5 separate regions of the Homo sapiens genome follow, and all the other regions are linked to region 1. The links are contacts of gene promoters, found by promoter capture Hi-C in blood cells and fetal thymus (Javierre and others, 2016). All regions are on one chromosome and are shown on one strand. Each heading gives the region's core, a stretch centred on a gene start or on the middle of the fragment in contact. The rest is flanking DNA. Distances are from core to core; before and after follow the strand shown.

What was found. Contacts are between HindIII fragments. The CHiCAGO score rates a contact against its expected background, and 5 or more counts as called.
Region 2: a contact is called between a fragment that was not itself captured here and the fragment with the promoter of WWC2-AS1 in region 1, in 1 of 17 cell types (megakaryocytes). The highest score is 5.6, in megakaryocytes.
Region 3: a contact is called between a fragment that was not itself captured here and the fragment with the promoter of WWC2-AS1 in region 1, in 2 of 17 cell types (megakaryocytes and erythroblasts). The highest score is 7.2, in megakaryocytes.
Region 4: a fragment that was not itself captured here is called in contact with the fragment with the promoter of WWC2-AS1 in region 1 in 1 of 17 cell types (megakaryocytes); the score reaches 6.3 in megakaryocytes.
Region 5: a fragment that was not itself captured here is called in contact with the fragment with the promoter of WWC2-AS1 in region 1 in 7 of 17 cell types (monocytes, naive CD4 T cells, fetal thymus and 4 more); the score reaches 6.1 in monocytes.

What each region holds. Positions count from the first base shown.
Region 1 is chr4:183,239,302-183,242,127 of GRCh38, forward strand. It overlaps WWC2-AS1 (WWC2 antisense RNA 1), which reads right to left and starts at 1,333. Exons shown (of 2, transcript NR_126473.1): 1 at 1,223-1,333. WWC2 (WW and C2 domain containing 2) reads left to right here. Exons shown (of 23, transcript NM_024949.6): 5 at 882-961. The HindIII fragment of the contact is 11,540 bases long and covers 1-2,826 here.
Region 2 is chr4:182,985,112-182,987,937 of GRCh38, forward strand. It overlaps LOC107986327 (a long non-coding RNA gene), which reads right to left and starts at 923. Exons shown (of 3, transcript XR_001741935.1): 1 at 885-923. The HindIII fragment of the contact is 4,736 bases long and covers 1-2,826 here.
Region 3 is chr4:183,010,797-183,013,622 of GRCh38, forward strand. No RefSeq gene overlaps it. Among named protein-coding and RNA genes, the nearest start is that of WWC2-AS2, 87 kb to the right of the region's middle. The HindIII fragment of the contact is 253 bases long and covers 1,256-1,508 here.
Region 4 is chr4:183,034,710-183,037,535 of GRCh38, forward strand. LOC112268472 (a long non-coding RNA gene) reads left to right here. Exons shown (of 3, transcript XR_002959823.2): 3 at 288-895. It overlaps LOC107986328 (a long non-coding RNA gene), which reads right to left and starts at 2,420. Exons shown (of 2, transcript XR_007058409.1): 1 at 2,342-2,420. The HindIII fragment of the contact is 1,777 bases long and covers 531-2,307 here.
Region 5 is chr4:183,054,322-183,057,147 of GRCh38, forward strand. No RefSeq gene overlaps it. Among named protein-coding and RNA genes, the nearest start is that of WWC2-AS2, 43 kb to the right of the region's middle. The HindIII fragment of the contact is 8,021 bases long and covers 1-2,826 here.

The DNA of each region.
Region 1 (2,826 bases), core at 83-2,582:
AGACTCTGTCTCAAAAAAAAAACAAACAAACAACAGAAAAAAACTTAAGGCTCTAACTTAATATATGGAAGTAAGTTTCTAACCCTTGTGAGAAGACCTTTATTAGTTTGTGACTAAACCAGGCGTGTGCTGCTTTTCTGATCTGTCCAATTTTAGAATTGTTATTACCAAAGTATATATTTGACAACAGGAAAAATATATTTTATCAGTTTGACAACAAATATTTATTGATCATCTGCTGTTTGCTTGGCATGGTTGTAGATGCTTGGGATACAGCTGGTGGGTTGCAGCTTACTTTCCCACGGAGGACAGACAGTGTACACGGAGAATTTCAGCTCCTGAAAAATACTCTGGTCTAAATAAAACAGAGCCGTGGCAGGGGCAGGGGGGCTAGAGAAGTCCTATTTGAAAAGATAACATTTCAGCTAGCATTGGAGGGACAGGGAGTCAACTGCGGGAGATCTGGGGAGAGCTTTCCAGGCAGAAGGAACTGCCAGGACATCTGAGGAACGGAGGGGTGGGCAGTGGCCCTTGGCACAGTGAATGAAGGAAAAACACACACTTTTATAGAGATGCCATGACTTGGAGTTCTTATTCTGCCCATTTTGGTTGGAGACAATGATGATGTCCAGCTCATAAGAATGTTGCTAAGTAAGGTAATGAAGGTAAATAGTAGTAATAATACACATCACTGATAGTTTTAAACATCATTAATATGCCTTCCACAGAATTTATGTGAAGGAGAAACTGATAAAGTAAATGTTACTTTAACTCATGGCTTTGTTTATGTGTTTGTTTACTAATTTATTATCTTTTAAAACTGTAGACTGTGTTGCTAATTATCTGCAAACATTAATGTTTATGTTGATTTCTCTTTAAAGGTTAAAAAGCTAAAGAGAGAGCTCTCACAGATGAAGCAGGAACTGCTCTATAAAGAACAAGGCTTTGAAACATTGCAGCAGTGAGTATGAAAAGACTGAATCAACTTTAGAATAAGCTCCCTAACTAGTATGAATACAAAGAAAATAGAAGTACAGATTACATAAGCGATTTCTTAAAGAAACGTAAAGTAAAAAAGTTCAGAGCTCTACACCAAAAGAAAATAAAGCAATCAACCAACAGATAAAAAAACTTGGGAAAGATCTATGCACTTGAAAAGATCCAAAGTTTTTATTAATCATTGGAGATCCAAAGAAACCAAAGTGAAAAGCCTTTGTCTTACCTTTATCTCCTGGACCCTTGCTGGCCTCCTCTGAGATTGTGGTACAGAGCTAAGAGACTAGGCACAAGAAATTCCTCTCCACATTCGGCTGGGCTGGCTGTACTTGACCCCTGTGTGAGCCTGCAGCTGCCCTGGGCCCTTGGGTGGAGGCGTGTCTGTCTCTCTCTCTCTCTCTGCCAGCCCCAGGGATGACCTAGAGTCTAACCCTGACAGATGGCAGGGGAGCAAGAGCAAGTTAGGATTATTAGCAAAGGAGCGGGAGTGCGCTCCTCACTTCCTGGTTCCTCTACCTTTCCCGTTTGCTACTGAAGTTGGCTGGGCCGTTAGCAGAGCCCTAAGCTGGGCCAGGTAAAGTGGAAATGGAGGTGACAGAGGGTCACAGGATGAGGATATCCCTTCCGCATTCCCGGCCCCTGAAAGCCACTGTTCTCCCTGCTGCTGAGGCCCAGCCTATCCAAACCGTGACAGGCACACCTGAGACTTTCTAATCCTGCAGTCTCCACTCCACAGGGCCTCTCATGGGAGAGAAGCAGTCCATGGTTTTCACAGCCACATGACCACGGAGAGGAGTTAAAACTTCCCTCCTGCTTGGTGCCTCCAAGTGCGGTGCAGTATTTTTAGGGATGTCCCTGGTCAGTTTTGTGTTCAGGCAGGTTTCGTGTTCTTCCCGGCATCTCCCGTGGTAGCACCTCAGGAATGCCAAGCTGGTCTCAGGCGCCACCTCTGTGGAAAGTACCCAGCTGTGTTCCTTTTCCCTGTGGAATCTTACTTTACCTTCTGCTCTTATTTGGGATGCTCCAAGCAGCAAGCCCCTTTAAAGATCCTGTGTGTCACTGGCCAGATAAACAAACTGGTTGTTCTTGTTTGGGTGATTAGTCATATCTTGGGATACGCAGGCACTGCTCTTGACCACCAGTCAGACGCATGACTTTAATTTCACACGTGCTGTTATCATCCAGACTCCTTTTTTCCTGCTTACCGCATAGAATCATGACCCTGATACTCCTTCAGATGCTCCCATCCTAGTGGTTCTCAAACCTGACTGCATATTAGAATAATCTGGAGAGTGCTTAGAAAAATAATGTTTCTAGTCTCTATGCCAGGTATATTTTATGAGATCCCAAGTGCTTCTCAAGTCCAGCCCTGTTGTAAGAACCTCAGCTGGTTGCAGAGCTCCCCGATAAACCAGGCAGAACTAGAATGACATAAATGCATTATTTAGTAATTGTTTATCAGCATAAAGCAGGGCTTCGTGGTGGGGGTGGGGAGAGAAAACAGAGTTTGAAGAGTGCCGTAACGTGTTTAGCCATATGTTCCACATTTTTAAGGCACATGAAATTATAACTCGCGTCACCATTTGGGATTAAAGGTTAGCCAAACTTGCTGTCTTTGTTATATTGATGTAACAATGCTGTATTGTTTCAAAGCAGTTTGCTTGCAAGCAATTTTTATAGGAATCTAAGGCATGTTTAAGAATCTGTCAATAACATTCCACAAGAAAACAATAGACATTTGTTGTAGAAATTCAGGCATTCTCTTGGAATGATTCTAATCCCTTGAACCGAGAGCAGAAAGATATGATATCTAACATCAGAGACCTCTCC
Region 2 (2,826 bases), core at 169-2,668, 250 kb before region 1:
ATACTAGACAGAAATAGTGTAGAATTTGGAAGGGGTGATCAGGATTATAGCCTTATAAGAACTTGTATCTTTTTATTAGAAGGTAAAGTTAGTAATTAATTTTAGACTGTTAACCATGCATTTTAAGTAACTAAAGTTACTGCTAAAATAATAGACATCACAATATAACTTCTAAACTAATAGAGAAGGAAAAATAAATAATTCATAAAGAAGAAAAGAGGCTAGGCGCGGTGGCTCACACCTATAATCCCAGCACTTTGGGAGGCCGACGCAGGCGGATCACCTGAGGTCAGGAGTTCGAGACCAGACTGGCCAACAGGGTAAAACCCCATCTCTACTAAAAATACAAAAATTAGCTGGGTGTGGTGGTGGGCACCTGTAATCCCAGCTACTCGAGAGGCTGAGGCAAGAGAATCACTTGAATTCAGGAGGCAGAGGCTGCAGTGAGCCAAGATCGTGCCATTGCACAGCCTGGGTGACAGAGCAAGACTCTGTCTAAAAAAAAAAAAGAAGAAGAAAAGGAAAAAAGAAAGCACAACAAATAGAAAATATACAACAAGATGTAATAAATTAATCCAAATATAAATAGATAAAAAAATAGTTAAGTGAAACCTGCCAATTAAAAGACAAATATTATTAAACTGAAAAAAAATATGAAATCAAGATATTTATAAAAGACTTATCTAAAACATAAGGATACAGTAATTAAAAAAAAAAAGGGCTAAGCATAGTGGCTCATGCCGGTAGTCCCAGTGCTTTTAGAGGCTGAAGCGGAAGGATGATTTGAGACCAGGATTTTGAGAATAGCCTGGGCAACATAGTGAGACCCTATCTCTACCACAAAATTAAAAATAAAAAAATTAGCGAGGCATGGTGGTACATACCTGTAGTCCCAGCTGCTCAGGAGGCTGAGGCGAGAAGGTTGCTTGAGCCCAGGAGTTTGAGATTATAGTGAGCTATGACCGTGCCACTGCATTCCAGTCTGGGCAACAAAGCAAGACTCTGTCTATAAAAAAAATGTATTTTAATCAAAAAAGTGAATAAAGATATGCCAGGTAAATGTTAACCAAAACAATTCTGGGTAATATTAGACATATATTATACCTAATGATTAAGATTCTACTCATTAGGAAGATACAACATTTATACAACTAATAATATAGTTTCAAATAACATGAAGTAAAAAATTGACAGCTACAAGAGATATTAACAAATCCACAATCATAGTTGAAGTTTTTCTAACATTTGTTTTAGTAATTGGTAGAGACAGATTTTTTTAAGTCAGTAATAATGTTAAAAATTAGAATAGCACAATAGACAATCAGGATCTATGATTCGCTCTCTCTCTCTCTCTCAGAATATATATTCTTTTCAAGTATACATTTACCCATTTAGAGAAGTGACCACATGCTAGGCTTTAAGAAAACCTCAATAAATTCCAGCAGGTTGGCATTGTTCAGAACGTATTATTTAACCGCTAGACAATTACATTGGAAATCAATAGCAAAAAAGGTAGAAAATCCTCATACCTTTAGAGATACAAAACACACTTCTAAAGAATTTCACAGAAGCGAGAGACTCTAATGGAAACTATAAAATATTTAAAATAGAATAACAAACTAGTACATATTAAAAATATATGAGATATAATGGTATTAAGAGTGAGTTTTATAGCCTCAAATGCTTAAACTGGAAAAGACGTCTCAACTGTGTGACCTAAGCATCCAATTTATGGAGCAAGAAAAAAAACAGCTGAATAATTCCCCCAAAAGTAGAAGAAACAACAAAATAAACATAAAAGCAGAAATGCATAAAATAAAAAACATAGTTCCAAGATAGAGAATCAACAAAGCTAAAAATTTGGCCTTCGACAATACTAATAAAATAGACAACAGCAAGATTAATGAAACAAAAACAGAGAGACATATAAACTAATTAAGAATTAATATGCACATATCTCTAGAGGCTGGAGAGAAAACAGATTATAAGATATGAACAAATTTGGGACAATTCGTTTGAAAACCTAGAGGAGATGAATACATCGTATTATGAGCTGAACTGTGTTCCCTCCAAATCCATATGTTAAAGTCCTAACCACCTGTACCTAAGAATATGCCTGTATTTGGAGATAGTGTCTTTAAAGAGGCCATTAAGTATAAATGAGATCATTAGGGTGGGCCATAATCCAATAGGATTGGTGTCATAAGAGGAGATAAGGACACAGATACACCGAGGAAAGACTGAGTGAAGACACGGGGAGAAGGTGGCCAACTACAAGCCAAAGAGAGGGGCCTTGGGAGAAGCCAACCCTGCTGACACCTTGATCTTGGACTTCCAGCCTCCAGAACTGTGAGGAAACACATTTCTGTTGATTCAGCCATGCAGTCTGTGTCACTTTGTTATGGCAGTCCTAGCAAACTAATACACAAACTTAGAAAAAATCTCAATCATTAGCAAAACTAAATCTGTAATTTAAAAGTGTTGTGCAGCCAGGAGAGGTGGCTCATGCCTGTAATCCTAGCACTTTGGGAGGCTGAGGCAGGCGGATCATGAGGTAAGGAGTTCAAGACCAGTTGGGCCCAACATAGCAAAACCCTGTCTCTAGTAAAAATACAAAAATTAGCCAGGCATGGTGGTGGGCATCTGTAATCCCAGCTACTCAGGAGGCTGAGGCAGGAGAATCGCTTGAACCTGGAAGGCCGAGGTTACAGTGAGCCGAGACCGTGCCACTGCACTCCAGCCTGGACTAGAGAGCAAGATTCTGTCTCGAAAAAAAAAATTAAATAAATAAATAAAGTCTTGTGACACAAAAAAACAACAGATTCA
Region 3 (2,826 bases), core at 132-2,631, 230 kb before region 1:
CAAAATAGAAAGCATTTTCTTTCTTTCTGAAGGTATAATAGACTCCCTCAGGTACATCACTCAAGAGAATTATGAAGTAAGTAAGCCTCTCAGATGAGATTTTAAAAGGTGACTAACTTTCTCTGGTCTGCCCACCATCTCCTTTCTATATACCCGAAAGTCAGGGTTTGTTTTTGAATTTAGCCCATTGATGGGGAAGGTGCAAGAATGAGAGTGCTTTGGAAAGTTTGTGATGGAAGCAGCAGGGCTTGGTGGCAGCCTAACTGGGGAAGAAAAAGAGTCTAAAATTCCTTCACATGATACGTTTCAAGAGACACTAATCTTCCATCAAGTACAAAATGTACTTTAATGCATACTGAAAACTAAGAAAGTCACAGTTATTTTAAATAAGTAAACAGACAAGATTAAATGACATTAAATATCAAAAGCTAATTTGAGTTTCTGGCATCAGAGCCAATGCTTCCTCCACACATGTGGGTAGTGGGTGATAGATATTCCTGACTTGGATTGTCACCAGCCTTCAGAGTTTGGGATGTCATCAGTCACCCATGGGAACAGTGAACGATGAGTCAGAGACTTCCGTGGAGAAAGTGCTCTTCTGGGAGGGAGTTCACTGCTATGTCCGCTTGCATATAATAGGGGCACAGTAAATGTTTATTGATATGTGGTTTTTCTTGCTTTAGAAAAAAGATAAACAGTCTACTAGTGTGTGTAGGCAGTGATATGTTAGGGTAACAGATAAAGTCTGAAAACTCAGTGACTTAGCGCCATGAAGGTTCATTTCCAGCACACACAAAGTCCATCGCGGTTCCAGTGACTGCAGCTGTGTCTTCCATGTCATTGAACCAGCTTGCTTATGACCACGGGCTTTACCCATTCAACGTGCAACTTCAGTCCAGAAATGAGGCTTATCCACTTCCCCTCTGCAGGGGCTGAGCCTGCAGGGGAGCCTGGGAAATATCTGCTGAGTATTCTGTCTCTATCACACATGGGTGGACTTCTGCACATCTACCTTTCAATACCAGATGATGGGTTCCTCTTGACTGTGCTTCCTATTGATTTGGGATGGATGGGAAAGGACTAACTAGAATTATTTATTAAAGGGCCAGAAAGCTATTTCCCTCCCAAATACATCAGCTTCTGAGCAAAAAAAAATTCAGCACGGTTGGCTATAGCAGTAGAACCACCAACTAGCAAAAGCACAGCTATTGTGTAGTCCACGCTATGTTAGCTACAATTTGAGTGATAAATTTTAAGCTTAAGAGGTCAATGAATATCGGTTGATATTAATGAATACTCATCAGCTGACAAAGTCAGCATCTTATTTACCCATGTCTTCTTCCTTCCTCAAAGTATTTCTGGAATAAAATGGGATTTAGTCTCCCATGACTCTGTTCCTTCTGGTAAAAGCCAGTACTCAAACCCAGGAGTTTATCCGAAACGTCCAGACATCTGGGACCACAAATAGTGAAAAATGGGACTGTCCCAATAAGCGCAGATGGCTAGTAAGCTTGTGGTACCATGGACTCATTTGCAGGTATGAGATCAGTCGTGATGGAGCCAAGTTATTTTCTTTTATGAACTTTTAATGTTTTTTGGCATACTTGAAAAGTGCAATAAAAATGAAAAAATATTCATCAATATTAGTGTATCTCTGTAGTCCTACTGTTGCATGGTAATATCATTAATTATGTATGGCTCCCACAGGGTAGTGTGTTTCAAGGGAGTGGAAATTGAATACAAAGTCTTTTATTCTTGTTTTCACTCCAACTCAAGTCATTAGTTCTCTCAGCAGATCTGCCCCCAACCCCAAGCCCCCAATCCTAATGCCCCCATCCTTGCCCACTCACAGCAACTTTCCGGCAAGCCAAAGCGCTATACCTTGAAGTGAATTCGTGGTTTTCCTCCAATTCTCAGCAAGCGAGCATTCCTATTTTGAGAACTGGCTTAGGCTAAGATAGCCACTCATTTCTCCAAGTGCCGTCAGCACAATTGTATTTTGTGTGTGGCATACACATTTACCTTCCGCCCTTGGAACAGTGTAATTGCTTGACATTTTGGCTGCCTAGACACATTTGTATCTCTGACCCCCCAGGTCCCATACCCAGAGCAGTGACAGGCTGGGACGGGTATCTGAGAGAAAACATCTTCCTCCTCCCTTGTGAGCCGCTCCTAACAGCTGCGCTCCGTTCCTGAGACCCTCCTTGCTTTTTCATCCTCCGCAGCCAAGAAACTGAATTGAATCCACTTGCAGGGCCATCCTCTCCTGAAGATGGCAGAATCTGAACAGCCAAGTGAAAGACAGGGGGGCCCCCACAAGCCCCTGTCCTACCCACGGATCCCGAAATAGAAGGAAATGCCCTAAGCTAGGAAGAAAAGCGCACCAAGAAAAGTGCATTCTGAGCCACACCTTCCATGTGGATAAAGTCAAGACTTGGGTTTCTGGAAGCGGAAATCTTGTCACTTTCCTTCATCATTCGTTTTTTCTTCCTCTTCCTCTTCCTCCTCTTCTTCCTCTTCCTCCTCTTCTTCCTCTTCCTCTTCCTCCTCTTCTTCCTCTTCCTCTTCTCTTCCTCTTCTCCTCCTTCTCCTCCTCCTTCTCCTCCTCCTCCTCCTCCTTCCCCCCTTCCCCTTCCCCTTCCCCTTCCCCTTCCCCTTCCCCTTCTCCTTCTTCTTCTTCTTCTTTTTTAGAGACAAAGTCTCACTCTGTCGCCCAGGCTGGAGTGCAGCGTAATCAGAGCTCACTGACCGATGGAGAGGGAAGCCAGATGGGGACAGAAAAGAGGTTTAGGGGCGAGAGGGCAGACAGGTAAATACAGAGAGGTG
Region 4 (2,826 bases), core at 169-2,668, 200 kb before region 1:
CCGCATCCATGGATTCAACCAACCAGGGATCAAAAATATGTAGAAAAAAAAATGGATGGTTGCATCTGTACTGAAAATGTACAGACTTTTTTCTTGGCCTTATTTCCTAAACAATACAGGGTAACAACTACTTACATAACGTTTACATTGCATTAGGTATTATAAGTAAATGGTGTAACTAGTAGAATCAAGTATATTAAAGGAAAATTATTAATATTTGACCTGTTTGATATCAACATTAACATCAGAGTAAAAAAAATAGCAATGTTCAACTTTCTTTCTCCTAGGAAACATTCCTAGGTGGTTGAGGAGGGTGACTTACGACTTCCTCTCAAAGATATCTAAACCAAGACGTCTTCAACTTTAGCCTGCATATGCATCACCTGGAAATCGAGGTGTAGGGTGGGCCCTGAGTTTGCCTTTCTAAGGAGAGATGCTAACAAGATCTGGACCATCAGCCACTCAAGACCTTTAACATGTTTCATACCTGTCGACACCCTGATACACCTTGGCCTCTGAAATACTTTACAAGCTTTGCTAAAGAACACGTTCATAATGTACCAGTTCTTTAGCACTGATTCCCTTAGGGAAATCTGTTCTTCAAGGCAAGTTTCCCATTGCAGTTCTCTATCAACCTGGCGGGGGAAGTTACTGCCAATCATTGACCAAGCAGCACAGATTGGGAGAACTCCGTACCTTGGCTCTATAAGCAACATCACTGTTCAGAGTGGTCATCCGAAGCATGCAGACTGGAGATACTATGAACTCTGATCACATAAATGAAGGATTCACTGTACTTTTGTAAGCAGACAGACAGGGTTTCCAGGGATTTTAGGAAATGAATAATCAACCTGAGGAAGCAGCCTGTTTTACAGCCTCTTGCCCTGCAGCCTGTGTGGAATGCAGTCGCCTTGCTGGTTGGAACCAGCAACTGACAGACCCCAGCAACTTATAGATGAACCCCAGTGAAGTTTCTTCATGCCATGCTAAAGCCCTCCTCCCCTAGAGGAGCTATAGCTTTATTATCATAACCTGTGACCCATCATGGCATGTAGAGGGGGGGTCTGGGCCACTGGGACCCCCCCCCCCATACACATGCCATGATGCACCTCTCCCTTCTCTATCACTCCATCAAACCCTCCTGTCACTTTCCCTTGGGAAGATACGGCTTTGGAGAACACTTCCCGTGTGTGTCTTACTTGTGCCAAGTAACACAATGCCTATTGATCAAAATCTGAGTTCTCCTGGAGAGTCGTTTGTTACTCACCAGGCAAATAAGCCCCAGTTTTTGGGAGGTAACATTATGAAATATTCTGAAGTAGTCCCATGAAAGATTTCTACTTTCCTTTTCAAATTATTGATAAATAAATGAGCTTGCTTTGGGCTATGGAGATAGTTTTACATGAATAAATCAATTCCTCTGAGCAGGGGCACCAGTGTGGAGATACAGGCTGACACACCAGCTCTCGCCTGTCCCTGGGTGGGAGGGGCTGGGCCGGTGCCTCCCCTGGATTGTTTCCTGTTTAGGCATTGCCAGAGGCGGGATGAGAAGAAAGGGCTGTGGGGATCTGAGGCTTGGAATTCCAAGATTGCTCCCAACTAAGCTGTGGTGCTTAGATGGACACCTGCACACCCCGTTATCCTCTGGCTGGTCCTACATGTTCAAGGACCCTTAAGGGGCTCTCCACAACAGACTTTCATCTCTTCTTCCGAATTGGCCTGCTCTCTGTTCAATTCCCTCAAGGCAGGGATGGATGACTGGCAAAGTTATCCAAGTGTTACGTGAGAGAAAGAGAACTATTTCTTTTGTCTGAGTCCTTTGTCTATCTTTTTCTTTTCAAGTATTCCCTGTCCTTCAAGAGCCAGGTGAATGCCACGTCCTCTTCAGAGCCTTCCTGGATGTCACAGCCGACCATTGCTGGGGCTCAGAAAAAGCTACCTGAACATATGGCGCTCTGGCCTGCAGAGTACTTTGAACTGGAGGAGATTGGAAGGCTTCAGCAATGGCCTCAGCACTAAGATCTCTCTGACCTTCTCTTGCCCTTGTGTCTCGCTCCTCTTTCTCCCCTAAGCACAGGGAGGGGCTGTCCCTGAACTTTCCTTGTCTCCTTAAAGATAGATCTAAAAAGGAACTCAGTTTCTCCTCCAGAGACAAGATTCACTGTATCATAGGAGAAGAGACTGGGGGTCCGGGCCACTCACAGACATCGCCATAGGCTATCGCCTGTTCGTCTTCCCCAAAAAGCACTTATTCTCCCCTAAGCAGCCTACATGCCCGATCCCCTCTTCTTTATGAAGAAGTAGATAAGCTTGTCAATTTCACTGGGTTTTGGGTACTCACTTTTGTTTCTCGTGCTGCTCCCATCCGTGTAATAAATGTGCATGTTTTTTTCTCCTGTTCATCTGCCTACTGTCCTGGAGTCAATTATGAAAACTCAGAGAGTAGAGAGAAAGTGTTTTCTGTCCCTATAGGAGGCAGCCGTTGCTCTCATGGCACTCATCACTGTCTGCCTGGCGTCATGCGTAAGTACCCGGTTGCCCCTAAAAGATTGCAAGCTCTGTGGGAGCGGAAACTGTGTCTCATTCATCTCCTGCAGGCACTCAGGAAGGAGGAAGAAATGGATGAAGCCTCTTATGTCCTAAGGCCTGCTAAGGTGCTTATGTAATCAAATTTTATCTTATCCTTATAATATGTGTTGCTTTACCTTTGATCACTGTAATGCCACTTATATAGCATGTTATAATTTATAAAGACATTTTCATATACTTTCTTTTTACCAACATTAATTTCCAACATCCTTCCATGCGTGTGATATTTTGGGGACA
Region 5 (2,826 bases), core at 168-2,667, 180 kb before region 1:
AACTGTGTCCAGATGTTGTGCATGACTTCACAGAATTTACAACAGAGCCAATCAAGGAAATCAAGACAGAGATTGTGGATATGAAAAAAAAAAAGCTGGAGAGTAAAGGGTTGCAAGATATGCATCTTGGAAAATAAAAACAAAATACACACACACAAAAAAAAACACAAAAAATGTGTTATGGTTTTTTTTTTTTTTTTTTTTTTTTGAGATGGCGTCTCACTCTGTCACCCAGGCTAGAGTGCAGTGGCATGACACGATCTCGGCTCACTGCAACCTTCGCCTCCCAGGTTTAAGCAATTCTCCTGCCTCAGCCTCCAGAGCTGAGATTACAGGTATGCACCACCATGCCCAGCTAATTTTTTTGTATTTTTCATAGAGATGGGGTTTCACCATGTTGGCCAGGCTGGTCTCAAACTCCTGACCTCAGGTGATCCGCCCACTTTGGCCTCTCCAAAAAAAGTTTTAAGATATTGATGTAGGAGAAATTCAAGAGTGAACAGACACCACCCTAGAGGAATCAACAGACAACGACGATGGAGTGAGTGCTTCCAAACCAGCGCCAGACAATGAGGCAGTGCCAGAAAACAAGTTGGCATTAGATGATCTGGCAGAAGGGTTTTGATTATTCAAGACTGCTTTTGACTTCTTTTACAACATAGACCCTTCCATGATATAGGCAATGACACTAAAACACATGATGGAAAAATGATTGGCATCATATGCAAATATTTTTAGAGAAACGAAAAAGCAAAAATGTCAGGCAGAAGTTACAATGCATTTCCATAAAATTACACCTACTGTGCCTGCCTCTCCTGCCTCCTCTTCCACCTCCTCCACCTCTTCCGTATCTGCCAACCCTGAGACAGCAAGACCAACCCCTCCTCTTTCTTCCTCTCAGCCTACTCAATGTGAAAATGAGAAGGATGAAGACCTTTATGGTGACCAACTTCCACTTAAAGACTAGTAAATATATTATCTTTTATGTTTAATTAACATGAATACATAACAGTTATACATATTTATGGGGTACATGTGATATTTTAAAACAAACAAGCAATGTGTAGTAATCAAATTAGGGTAATTAGAATATCCAAAACCTCAAATATTTATCATTTCTTTGTATTAGAAACATTATAATTCCACTGTTTTAGTCATTTTGAGATATACAATAAATTATTATTAACTATAGTCACCCTATTATGCTCCCAAATACTAGGTCTTATTCCTTCTATCTAACTGTATTTTTGTATCCATTAACTATTCCCTTTTTCTGTCCACCCTTCCCCTCCCGACCAACTACCCTTCCTAGCTTCTGGTAACCATCATTCTACTCTCTATTTCCATGAGTTTACTTTTTCTTCCAAACTCCCACAGATAAGTAAGAACATGAGATATTTGTTTTTCTGTGCCTCACTTTTTTTCACTTGACATAGTATCCTCTAGCTCCATCCATGTTGTTGCAAATGACAGGATTTCATTCTCTTTTGTGGCTGAATAATATTCCATTGTGTATATACCCCACATTTTCTTTATCCATTCATCCATTAGTGGGCACTTAGGTCGACTCCATGTCTTGTCTGTTGTGAATAGTGCTGCAATAAACCTGGGAGTACACATATCTCTTTGACATACTGATCTCCTTTCTTTTGAATATATACCTATCAGTGAGATTGCTAGATCACATGGTCATTCTATGTTTAGTTTTTTGAGGAACCTCCATACTGTTGTCCATAGTGGCTATACTAATTTACATTCCAACCAACAGTGTACAGGTGTTCCCCTTTCTCCACATCCTCTCCAGCATTTATTATTGCCTGTCTTTTGAATAAAAGCTATTTTAACTGGGGTGAGTTAATATCTTATTGTAGTTTTGATTTGCATTTCTCTGATGATTAGTGATATTAGACATTTTTTCATATACCTGTTGGCCATTTGCATGTCTTCCTTTGAGAAATGTCTAGTCAGATTGATTGCCCATTTTTAATTGGATTACTTGGGATTTTCTTCTATTGAGTTGTTTCAACTTTTTAAATATTCTGGTTAAGAATCCCTTGTCAGGCTGGGTGTGGTGGCTCACGCCTGTAATCCCAGCAATTTGGGAAGCCAAGGAGGGTGGATCATGAGGTCAAGAGATCGAGCCAACATGGTGAAACCCTGTCTCTACTAAAAATACAAAAAATTAGCTGGGCGTGGTGGCACGCACCTGTAGTCCCAGCTACTCAGGAGGCTGAGGCAGGAGGATTGCTTGAACCCGGGAGGCAGAGGTGGCAGTGAGCTGAGATCATGCCACTGCACTCCAGCCTGGTGACAAAGCAAGACTCTGTCTCAAAAAAAAAAAAAAAGTGTGTTATATTCAGGATTTTTGCTAAATGGGCAGATTATAGTTGTACTTGTCACCAGATGGGGCCAAGGATAGTGTGGGGCTGAGGAATGGGTAACTATGTGAGATGATGAATATGTTTATTAATTTTTTCCATCATAGTAACTATTTTACTATATATGTATTTTGTGGGTTTTTATTGTTGTTTTTTTGAGACAGAATCCCACTCTGTTGCCTAGGTTGGAGTGCAGTCACACAATCTCGGTTCACTGCAACCTCTGCCTCCTGGGTTCAAGGGATTCTCCTGCCTCAGCCTACCAGGTAGCTAGAACTACAAGCGCGCACCACCATGCCTGGCTAATTTTTGTATTTTTAGTAGAGATACGGTTTCACCATGTTGGCCAGGCTGGTCTCCAACTCCTGGCCTCAAGGGATCCTCCCACCTTGGTCTCCCAAAGTGCTGGGATTACAGGCGTGAGCCACTGTGCCCAGCCTATATATGT